Regions from separate parts of the Homo sapiens genome. Here regions 1, 3 and 4 are each linked to region 2. Evidence: promoter capture Hi-C in 16 types of primary human blood cells and fetal thymus (Javierre and others, 2016). All regions are on one chromosome and are shown on one strand. Each heading gives the region's core, a stretch centred on a gene start or on the middle of the fragment in contact. The rest is flanking DNA. Distances are from core to core; before and after follow the strand shown.

The links. Contacts are between HindIII fragments. The CHiCAGO score rates a contact against its expected background, and 5 or more counts as called.
Region 1: a fragment that was not itself captured here is called in contact with the fragment with the promoter of CALHM6 in region 2 in 6 of 17 cell types (monocytes, total B cells, naive B cells and 3 more); the score reaches 13.4 in monocytes.
Region 3: a fragment that was not itself captured here is called in contact with the fragment with the promoter of CALHM6 in region 2 in 9 of 17 cell types (naive B cells, total B cells, neutrophils and 6 more); the score reaches 19.7 in naive B cells.
Region 4: a fragment that was not itself captured here is called in contact with the fragment with the promoter of CALHM6 in region 2 in 2 of 17 cell types (total B cells and naive B cells); the score reaches 5.5 in total B cells.

Annotation. Positions count from the first base shown.
Region 1 is chr6:116,316,152-116,318,978 of GRCh38, forward strand. It overlaps a transcript of DSE not described here. Among named protein-coding and RNA genes, the nearest start is that of TSPYL1, 38 kb to the left of the region's middle. The HindIII fragment of the contact is 1,660 bases long and covers 626-2,285 here.
Region 2 is chr6:116,459,730-116,462,624 of GRCh38, forward strand. It overlaps CALHM6 (calcium homeostasis modulator family member 6), which reads left to right and starts at 1,646. Exons shown (of 3, transcript NM_001010919.3): 1 at 1,646-1,700; 2 at 2,143-2,725. The coding sequence starts at 2,201. It overlaps CALHM6-AS1 (CALHM6 antisense RNA 1), which reads right to left. Exons shown (of 2, transcript NR_174951.1): 2 at 749-1,465. RefSeq lists enhancers at 2,052-2,161, 2,172-2,251 and a silencer at 2,632-2,711. The HindIII fragment of the contact is 9,761 bases long and covers 1-2,895 here.
Region 3 is chr6:116,298,140-116,301,012 of GRCh38, forward strand. It overlaps a transcript of DSE not described here. Among named protein-coding and RNA genes, the nearest start is that of TSPYL1, 20 kb to the left of the region's middle. The HindIII fragment of the contact is 9,643 bases long and covers 1-2,873 here.
Region 4 is chr6:116,597,099-116,599,915 of GRCh38, forward strand. RWDD1 (RWD domain containing 1) reads left to right here. Exons shown (of 7, transcript NM_015952.4): 7 at 1-577. Among named protein-coding and RNA genes, the nearest start is that of RSPH4A, 18 kb to the right of the region's middle. RefSeq lists silencers at 1-75, 1-25. The HindIII fragment of the contact is 1,103 bases long and covers 958-2,060 here.

The DNA.
Region 1 (2,827 bases), core at 206-2,705, 140 kb before region 2:
CAATAACACCTTTAATTTTATAAATCTTTAAAATGTATTCTAAAAGGAGTTCAGATTGAACCTTTTGTTTAAAGGGGCAGATGGAAGATAGTAGGAGCAGAGCTTCCTTCTGACATTGATTCATGGTTGGGTTTATGGTTGAGTTCATGGATCTTTCTATAATGATTTTCCAGCTGATTCTAAATGTTAAGTAGGACTGGCCTGTGACTGATATCTACAGACCTTACTATAGACTGGCAGTAAACTCATAATAATCTATATGATTTAAAATCAGTTGTTTAACCACAGTATAATTTCAAGACTATACTTCCCTTTCAGACATTGGTATTTAACAAGTGGATAGTCTAAACCTACCCTGGGACTGGACCTTGGGAGCTAGTTCCAGTTTTCAATTAATGAACCACATTATACTAGATGAATAAGATTTAAATAATTTTGTCAAAGCGTTATCCCCTCAACTCATGAAATAACCTTTACTAGGACAATAATGGGACTTGGTGCGGAATGACCTGAAATGACAGCTAGTCCAGAAAGATTGGTATTTGGTTGTGCTGTAGATGACTTCCTTATCCTGAAACTAATTACAGAAAGGAAGATATTTAACAAATGCCTTGGAAATTGATTAAGCTTCTTCTTCTTTTTGCTTATTTCTTCTTCTACTACTACTACTACTACTATTATTATTATTATTATTATTATTACTGCTACTACTACTACTTTTAATGTGCTGTGCAGGTACCTTAGCTCATTTACTACTAGAAATTTTGTGAGCTTATGTTAGCCTGGATTATCCAAGAAGCAGATGCTGATTCAGCATTAAATGTGCAAGAAATTTAGTAGGGTAAATTCCTGTGAGAAAAAAAATGTGAAGGGATCCCAGAGAGGCTGGAAGAGCCCTTAATGCAAGTCTGACCCTGAGGAAAAGATAGAAAGAGAAGGGGAAGAATGGTGTAAGCATTTCAGACTGCTGTTCAGTTCCATGAAAACTTAGCAAGGCTGTTGGGGAATCCTCAAGCCAAAGCCAACTATTAGAGGAGTCACTCATCTCATGGGATTGGGCCTGCCTTTGTATTTCTGTTGTACAGTCATTGGCCGGGAGCAGCCTGTGGGAGAATGTGGACCTCAGTGGATTTCAGAACAGAGCAGCTGGGGCTTTCAGCCAATTCTGCCCCCTGCAGTCAAAATCTAGGAGGCATATTGTTATGGCCAATATTCTCATATTTAGACATGATGTTCTAGAGATTCCGGGAAGTTACTCTTGGATATGTGTCCAAGATGTGTCCTTTCCAGAATAATTTCTCTTTACACATTCTTTAACCTGGTTATTATCAGTCTTGTGCTGAACTCTCTAACCCATGTGGATAATTTTTAGTAAGGATGCTTAGTAATTTAAAAACATAAAATCCATGCTGCTAGTCTCTAAATCTTCTACGAAAAGTTTAATGCTAAACAAAAGGGGTGTGTGTGTTGTTTGTATCATGTATATGTACATACAAATACACACATACACATAGTATTGAGAAACATAAACTTATTCAACTGGTTATTATAGACCATGAAAGGAATTGTATTGCCGTATCTAAACAAAGTGTGCAATTGTTTGGGTTTATGTACTCTGTGCTTATGAGTGTTGTGAATTTGTCACTTGGGCTTTCACCTCAGAACAAGTCCTTTTTTATTTCTACCTCTTGAAATAATAGTTGTTCACTCAAAGCTCAGAGGTGGTAGAAACTGGTAGCAGATATCAGGAAAACAAGAATAATTGTCATTTACTATTATTGGTCAGTTTGGTTCTTTATTATTTCCTTGGAAATTATACACAATCAGAACAACTACTTGAGGGTTTTTTAAACCTCAAATAGTATAAAAATAGCATTTTATCCTAATCAAAGCAAGTTTTATTCAGTGTTTTTCTATGATCGAACAAGGAGTGGACAAATATATATTGAGCACTTGCTGTATGACATGCTGAGGCATTCGACATTCATGATTTCATTTCTTGTAGCATTATAATTATTATGCTTCACAACAAGCCAATGGGCTAGGTGTCATTATGCACATTTGAAAAGTAGGGGCCAGTCGTGGTGGCTCACCCCTGTAATCCCAACACTTTGGGAGGCCAAGGCAGGCAGATCACAAGGTCAAGAGATCGAGACCATCCTGGCTAACACAGTGAAACCCCGTCTCTACTAAAAATACAAAAAATTAACCAGGCATAGTGGTGGGTGCCTGTAGTCCCAGCTACTTGGGAGGCTGAGGCAGGAGAATGGCATGAACCCGGGCCAAGCTTGCAGTGAGCCGAGATGCACCACTGCGCTCCAGGCTGGGCAACAGAGTGAGATTCCATCTCAAAAGAAAAAAAAAAAAGAAAGAGAAGAAGACTGAAAAAGCAAAACTAAAACTAACTTGCCCCATGGCTCTCAACTAGTAAGTGGCAAAACTAGCAACTTTACAACTATCTGACTGATATCAAAGCTCCAGTTTGTGTTTCTCAGCTATACGTGTCTTTTTAAAAATGAAGGAAATTAAATTTCAGCATCAAATTACCTGGCTAATTTAGAAATGAAGGGTTAAAAGTAAATAGAAAATGAGAAATTTAAAAATATTTTTTGGAAGGAAATACCCAAAGAGTAAAGTGAATTAAATCAGCTTCTTTTCTACTTGCTTATTAATAACAATAATAATGCTAACGTATCCTACAAAGCACATAGCAGAAATGTCTAAGAAAACTGTGTACCTAGTAAATATGTATTAACATGTTTACATATGATTTAAAGATGACTAAAATAGAGGACAGAATGCCCAAAACGCTCTTTTTCTGTTTAGG
Region 2 (2,895 bases), core at 396-2,895:
TGATTAGATTGAGCCTCAGTGGATGATAAACTATTATAGCACAGTGGTAAAACCCTGGTATGGCTATCAGCAGGTAACCAGGAAAATGCCAGCCATCCCTCTTGGTTTGAGAGATGTGGGAGAATAAATTAATCTCACTCAAGAAGACAGAAGGATGCATTTTTATTAGGTTTCGGTTAGGGGAGATTTGGATAAAGCCATCTGCACAAAGGTTGTGGATATAGTGATGTTTCTGCATGATGGAATATGGGAAAGGGTGGACGAGAGAGGACACATCTTAGAGTATTATGGTAGAGGTGAAGAAGAGTCCAGCAGTAAGAGGAGAGTTACTCAAGGCACAGGGGAAGAAATTTATCTTGGGAGATGACAAATTACAAAGATAACAGTCAGAGCAGAAGTGATTCGCTTCAAACACGCAACTTTGCTGCAAGTTGACAGGAAGCCTAGCAGTATCTGGTCTAATCTCAGAGAAGAGGGCCCCAACTTTCCTGCATGACCATGAAGACCCTCATCTGGGGCTGGCCCCTAAACACATAGAAAAAAGATGTCTATTTACCACATCACTATGGAATGACAGCTTTTGGCACTACGCTAGGCACCCTGCTGGTGGTGTTGGAGAGGGAGTAGTTAAGAAGGCAAGTTGGACTAAGAAAAGAATAATACATTTCTTGTCCATTCTCTAAAAATTCACTTGGTTCCATGGGCTACCTATTCTTTCCAGATAAAATAAGGCAAGCCTGGTGGATGGGCACCAATAAGAACCATTTCATTGTGAACTGCCCACCCAAGCTCCATATCCAGATACTCTCCTTGTGGTGAAGCAGACAGCTAAGGTGTACACCAATTCTCTTAAGGTAGCAGAGTCATTGAGTCACTTAATACTATCCACTGAATTGATCCTCGTTTAAAATTCAAAATTCAGTATTCATCAAGATTCTTAGGTTATGTACAATGTAATTATTTGTTGTCTATTCCCCAAATTGCATTTTAAGGGGAAAACTCTCACACTGATCATTCATTTAACAGACATATCCTATATGTAAAGGCACTTTACATATGCTACTCAATCTACTCATGTCAGTAATCTTGAAAAGTGGGCACTATTATCCTTCTTTTACAAATAAGGATGCTGTGTCTCAGAGGGGCATACTTGTTAAACACACCACAGACAAGATGCACTTGACTTCAAAGCCCATGTTCTTTCAAGCACACCTCAGCTCAGTCTGGAGTCACACAGAGTAAGGCTCAATATCACAAAAGTGGTTACAGTGTTTGTGTCAGAACAACGCTGCTTGAGAAAACTGAAGGTGGAGGAAACAACATTAGATAGATGTAGCTGCAGTTTGAAATTTTGGGTTCAACTAGCATTCTTTGAATAATCATGTATCCCCTTCTGTGCAGATCAGCTTGGTGGTCAGAGTCAGAATTTTACTCTCCTCCAGGCATTGACAGTGTTATGACATATCTGAAAGAAAAGAACATTGTATTGACGAGTAAATCAATACAGTATATTTGGTCTAATGTCCTGAAGGAGATCAGGCAGAGGAGAGAAGAGTCAGTGTGAACTAGGCTGGTGGCTCTGTCCGGTAGGGAGATGGAAAGGGTGCCGCCCATCATAGAAGTACCAGAACTTGAGCTGGACTTTGCTGATTTAGCTTATGGAAGAGGAACCAGAAATTTGTCCTTGAATAATGTTTCCCGTAAGTAATCAGTTTTTTGATAATTATTTGGTTTTACTGTGATCTGGCTTAGTAACTAGGGTGGCTGCAATAGAGGAAAATCTGGTATTTCCCAGTTTTTCCAACTGGCGGCCGTGGGTCAAGAAGGTTAGTTTCCTGGTTCGTTGTCAGATTGGTGGTAATAAAGGAACAAGGTCAACCTTCTGTCAGAGTTCCTGAATTGGGGGAGGAAGATAACTGGTGCCTCTGCCTTTGGAATGGGGTGGGTGCCAGAGAAGTCAAGGTCCTGGGGGTGTTTGCTTGCCTGGTTCTGTTAACCAGAGGTGGTGTGGCTGAAATGAGAAAGTGAAACTTTAGGAAGGTCTGAGAAGCCCTCTTCCCTTTAAAAAAAAAAAAAAAAAGGCTGCTTCTCGCAGAGTGGAAAGCCCCGGTCCCCATCCCACCAAAACCATTTGACAAGCAGGACAACGAAGAGGCAGAAGGATCTGGGCCTGTGCGCGACGCCCCGGGGGACGAGGCTCATGGAGAAGTTTCGGGCGGTGCTGGACCTGCACGTCAAGCACCACAGCGCCTTGGGCTACGGCCTGGTGACCCTGCTGACGGCGGGCGGGGAGCGCATCTTCTCCGCCGTGGCATTCCAGTGCCCGTGCAGCGCCGCCTGGAACCTGCCCTACGGCCTGGTCTTCTTGCTGGTGCCGGCGCTCGCGCTCTTCCTCCTGGGCTACGTGCTGAGCGCACGCACGTGGCGCCTGCTCACCGGATGCTGCTCCAGCGCCCGCGCGAGTTGCGGATCGGCGCTGCGCGGCTCCCTGGTGTGCACGCAAATCAGCGCGGCCGCCGCGCTCGCGCCCCTCACCTGGGTGGCCGTGGCGCTGCTCGGGGGCGCCTTTTACGAGTGCGCGGCCACCGGGAGCGCGGCCTTCGCGCAGCGCCTGTGCCTCGGCCGCAACCGCAGCTGCGCCGCGGAGCTGCCGCTGGTGCCGTGCAACCAGGCCAAGGCGTCGGACGTGCAGGACCTCCTGAAGGATCTGAAGGCTCAGTCGCAGGTCTGCCGCTGGCGCTGGGGGCGTTTGGGAGGAGCCGAGAGGCCGAGCTTTCTCAGGGCCGCTGGGGTGAGGGAAAAATCGGTGACTTTTCTCCAGATATACAGTACCCTAAGAAAATCTAGAATGGCTCCTTGCATCTAATTTGCCGTCAAGAGAATATCTGAATAAAA
Region 3 (2,873 bases), core at 15-2,514, 160 kb before region 2:
TAATGCCAGTACCAAATCTATAAATCTGTTGTGAAGATTAAATGAGGCTATCCACATGTGGTAGGCAGAATAATGCCCTCCCCCCAGGAAAGATGTCCATGTTCTAGTCTTCATAACCTGTGAATATGCTGTTACATAGCAAGGGGGAATTAAGGTTGCAGGTGGAATTACGGTTTCTCATCAGCTGACCTTGAGATAGGGATATTGTCCTAGATTAGTCAAGTGAGCCCAATGTAATCACAAGTGTTCTTTAAAGTAAAAAAGGGAGGCAGAAGAGATCAGAGTGACACAGTGTGTGAAGAACTCAACCAGCCATTGTTAGTTTTGAAGACAGAGGACGGGGCCACTAGCCAAGGCATGTGGGCAGCATCTAGAAGCTAGAAAGGTCAAGGAAATGGATTACCCTCTAGAGGTTCCAGAAAGAAATGTAGCCCTTCTGATACCTTCAGTTTAACCCCATGAAACACATTTTAGACTTCTCATTTCCAGAACTGTAAGATAATAAATTTGTGCCCTTTAAAGTCACTACGTGTGTGATAATGTTTTACAGCAGCTATAGAAAACTCAACATATAAAGCATTAAACACATTATCTGACATATAGTGTTCATGTAATACTGTTAGCTAACTCAGCTCCAGTGTTGAAACTCACACAAAGCCTTTGACTTTTCTGCATTCTGATAGGTGGGACATGGAAAACGGAGCCATCCTCTTCTACACTAGCCATTCATTAACACAATTCTTAATAATTAACTCCTAAATAAAAAATCGTTTTGGATACCTCAGGCTAGATACATTATCTTGTTCTTTTGAACCCGTAGGCATTGTGTGCATATCTATGATGATACTTGTTTTACCTTGTTTCTAGCTATTTGTGATTTTACTTAACTCTCTTAGTTTAGAAACAAGTTGAACATGAAAACAATTTTTACTAACTTTTCTATTCTCAGGATGTTATCAATTTGCATAAAGTAGCCAATGTACATTAAATATTATTAAGTAATAAGTATGGGAAAAGAGGAAGTGAAAGCAAGCAGTTTTCTGATGTGACCTAGAAATTGCACAGTTGTGTCCACTCTCATGCCACTGGCAAAACTTGGTTTGCAAGAGAAACAGAGGGAAATTTGTCTCTAGTTAATGTAGTTTTGTGCTTACCTAAAATTTTGGGAAAAAAGAGAGGACTGAATGTTGAAGAACAATGAGCACTTTCTCTGTTTAATGGTTTTAAGAATAATTTGAGCCAATTAGAAGTTATCTATAATTAATTATGAGTTTAGAAAGCTATAAGGGAAGAAAGTGCCCCAAAGGTATGGTGAACTAGAAATGTAAATAAATTCTCATCCTGAAAGGCTTCTTGAATTATTTTTATATATATATATATATATATATATATATATATATATATATATATATACACATACACACACACACACACATACATATATATGTATGTATATGTGTGTGTATATGTATGTATGTAGGTAGGTAGGTATAGGTATAGATAAAGAGATAGAGATAGATGATGGACATTCCTCTGCACTCAACTTGTACCACATAGAATCTCTAAAGTTTGAACAATACTATTCACAACTTTTTATTTTGTCACCTAAGAGGCCAAGATAACTTTTTAGGGCACATCTTTAACAGTTATTAATGTTGAAATGGTTAATTCTACAGTGTACTGTGAATTGAAACTGAGAAAGTAAAATCAATATGGTCCAAAAGAATGTTACCTAACACATTTTACTATTTTCTGAGATTGCTGGTGTTTTGGCAGTGACTGGCTGTGGGCAAGGATAACATGCAACATTAGATGGAAATATAGTTGTGGAATTTTAATAAACTGTTGGTCTGCCAATTATTTGCTTTTATTCAAACCGTTTTTAAATTTGGCAGTTATTCATAAATCTCAGTCCAGAAAAACTGTCAACTTTTCTTAGGAAGATGTATATAGTAGTAAGAGAATAAAGAAAAGACAGACCTTCACATATTCCAGAAAGAGATTTTATTTTTGCCCCAACCTACTGAATTTGTACTTCCAGAGTTTGCCATAGTACTTTAGAACCCAAAGTTACAATTAGAGGAATAATAGGAACTAACAGAGTCATGTCCGAATAGTAAGTTTCAAATAGTACATTTTAGGTGATTGTTACTATTTCTTGGAATACTAAATAGTTCTGATGAGTACAATACTCATTTCCTTCCATATTTGAGTATTATTTTCATACAAATGCAAAAATGAAAGAAGAAAAGCCTCGCTTCAAATGCACAAGTTCCTTAAATTTCTGAATATATCATTTTATCCTGCTTGTTGATAAAATTCCACAGTATTGAAGAGCTGGGAATTTTTAGAATTCACAGGGACTATGCATAATATTTGGTAATGGCTTGATGTGCTTCATGACATATATTATCTTTCTCCTTCTGCTCAAGATCTACTTGGCATAATTATTTTCCTGACTTCTGCCTCAGGCAATCAAGTCTAATGGGGACATTTTTGGCCTTTTGCTAAGTTACCAGTGCTAGTGTCAAAGAACTATTGTCCTTCCCCCCTTTCTTTCACCCTTTGAATCTGAGTCCAAAATAAATGAATGGTAACAAGTTCTCTTCACTGCTTTTTAGTGTAAAGTTTCAGTTCAGGGAAAGTTCTGTTCAACAATGAATTCCAGCAGTGTTCCTAATGCCAGCAGGCAGCATAAAGGTCTCGGAGTGTGGAAGTAAGCCAGAATAAATTCTTCTCAATTTGAGTGAAGTCATTTATATATGATAACATATGATTATGATTCTTAATGCAAACTTCATGGCCATCTTAAGAGCTTAAATGATCAGTATTTATAGACAGCAAACTTAGGGGTGAAATCATCTTACTGTGTT
Region 4 (2,817 bases), core at 259-2,758, 140 kb after region 2:
TACTGAACCAAGTGAGGAGAAAGATAGCAGTGGGTTGCTGCAAAGGAGGTGAGGGGAGGGGAGAGATAGCAAGTGAGAAAAAGAGAGACTAGTGGTGATGTTTTTAAGTAATTGAAGTAAAAAAGAGAGAGAAAGAGAGAGAGAAGAGGTTCTACTCAGTCCACCAAAGCTTTTTAATTTCCTTACATAATTAACATGATGAATTTTTAAATAATTGTTATATTTAGTTTTGTTCTTCCACCTTTTGGCTATTTCTACTACATATTTACTTATCATAAAAAATACTTCCTAGACCTTCCTCTTATAGCTATTGCCTATCTCTGCCTTTGCAGCTGTTCTCCTTTAAAGAGTAGTCTCCATTAGTTTTCTTGACTTCTTCATCTCCCTGCATAAAGATGAAGGGTATTTAGCTCTGAAAATCCTTTACTGTTGAATATTTAGATTGTTTTCAATTTTTACATAATGAACAATGCATCATGGGATTATTGGCTGCAAATAAATTGGAAACATAAAAGGTGTTTTAAGTTTAAATTTTTTTAAAAAAACAGGTAAAAATAAAATATTTGCCAAAGACTAAGGGTTGCAAAGCTACCTCATGATACACTCTTATACCAATACTAAAATAAACTTCACAACAACAAAATTAGTGATTGGGAAATTACAGTTTTGATGAACTTGGCATTTCAATCAAAGTCATATTTGCCACCGTTCTCTCAGTAGCTTTAGGCCAATTTCCAAATTGCTTTCGACAAATTAGTTTTATTTGTTTATATTATATTATATATATATAATATACATATATTTAAATTATATTTATAATTCTTTCAGTCAGATTTCCTGGAGAACAATAGTTGTTAGGTGCCTACCAGAAAATAGGACTAGAAAGTCATGTTGGAGCCATATTGTGGAAGTCCAAGGAAGTCGGATGGGAGCAAAGGTCATTTCAATTATATATCAAGCTTATATTCTATGGAAACTAACCCCTTCCTAGCACATATATTATTGAAAAATTATTCACCTGCTATTTTATCAATGTCATTTATAAATTAAAATTTTTCTTATTATAACTATACCTTAAAAACACCAATAAAATTGCCAGATCACTGATATTCCTGCTTTTATTATTATAAGATAATATATCAGTTCTTCAAATACACCTTTGAGTAGAAGGATGGAACTGAAAATTGATTTGGGTTTATTTAAAAGAGAAACCTTTCAACAATCCTAAATCTCAGATTTTTAATAGCATTTTTGTTGTTTGAGTATGGCCAGTTTCCTATTTATTTCCTATTTCTTATTGTTTGACAGTGCCCATTTATGTAGGAAAATCAAAATGGAAAAGTACATTAGAAAACGTATAAATCCTTCAACTTAAAGATGTATGATATTGGTATCTGGTTGCATAAGTTTCTAGTCAGAGGCTTTTCTAGTCATTTCTGTTCAAAAGTGGGATCCACCAGAATGTACACGTGATGATGGACCTTGTCTGTCTGTTCCCCAGTTTATTGTTACTATGAGAATAATGCCTAGCAGAGAGCAGGCAGTCTGTAAATACTTGTTGAGTGTATACATGAATAAGTCCTTTTGTACTACTGTTTTGTAACGTACTGTAACTTTTATTTTATTTTTTTGAGATAGGGTCTCATTTTGTCACCCAGGCTGGAATGCAGTAGCGTGATCTCAGCTCACTGCAGCCTTGACCTCCTGTGCTCAAGCCATCCTCCCACCTTAGCCCCCAAATTAGCTGGGACTACAGGCATGCGCCACCACACCTGGCTAATTATTATTATTATTATTCTTGTTTGTATTTTTTGTAGAGGTGAGGTTTCGCCATATTGCTCAGGGTGGTCTTGAACTCCTGAGCTCAAGCAATCCACATGCCTCAGCCTCCCAAAGTGCTAGGGATTACAGGCATAAGCCACCACACCTGGCCGCTGTAATTTTTAAAATAGACAATTTGTCAGATATATAGGTTGGGATAAACGAAAATGTGACAAAAGGAGCGTCCCTCTGCCAATTTAGAAATATAAATATGCATAAAAATACTTAAAGATACACGAAGCTTTGGGAAATTGCCATACACACACTCTATCCCCAGTATACCAGTATTTTACAGATTTTAAAACCAGTAACAAATATTTATTTACAATACCATTCTGCCTAAAATTTACCTATTAGCCAGATTGCTTTATGCATTTGGTCAAATTGCATTTAGTCAAATTGTTTTCAGCCAAACCTTATGCGCACATGCTAGCCAGTGGGATGATAAGAGACAAGAGATGTAGTCTGTCTTCTTGAGGTATTCTCATATTTCCGGGCACATAAATACAGTATTGAATGAAAACTTACAGGATGCTCCAGGGTCACAAAGGAGGGACATCTAAGTTAACCTGGGATTGGGATGGCCCAATGAGTCTTCTCAAAAGAAGTGCTTGAAATGACCAGTTGGAGGGCAGGAGCTGTGTTTTATTTGACTTTATATTTACTGCTTTGTAGATAATCTATACTAAATAATTATTGGATGAAATAATCATTGAAATCTGAAATAATTATTCATGTAGTAATTTATTGGATGAATAAATGAAATCAAGTTGAAGATGCATGGGAACATATTTAAACTGTTGTATCTTGGGATTTAAGCTGGATGAAAAAATAAGTCAAAGGAAGCATTTATGTGGGGAGAAATGGAAGCTACATATCTCTTTAAAATCAAAGATTATTCCTAATGGAAAATAAGGAAAAGAGAAAATTTGAATTCTGGGAGACTTAGGTTTCTGAGAAGTTCTTTCAGATAATGACAATTCAAGAGTGGTTCTT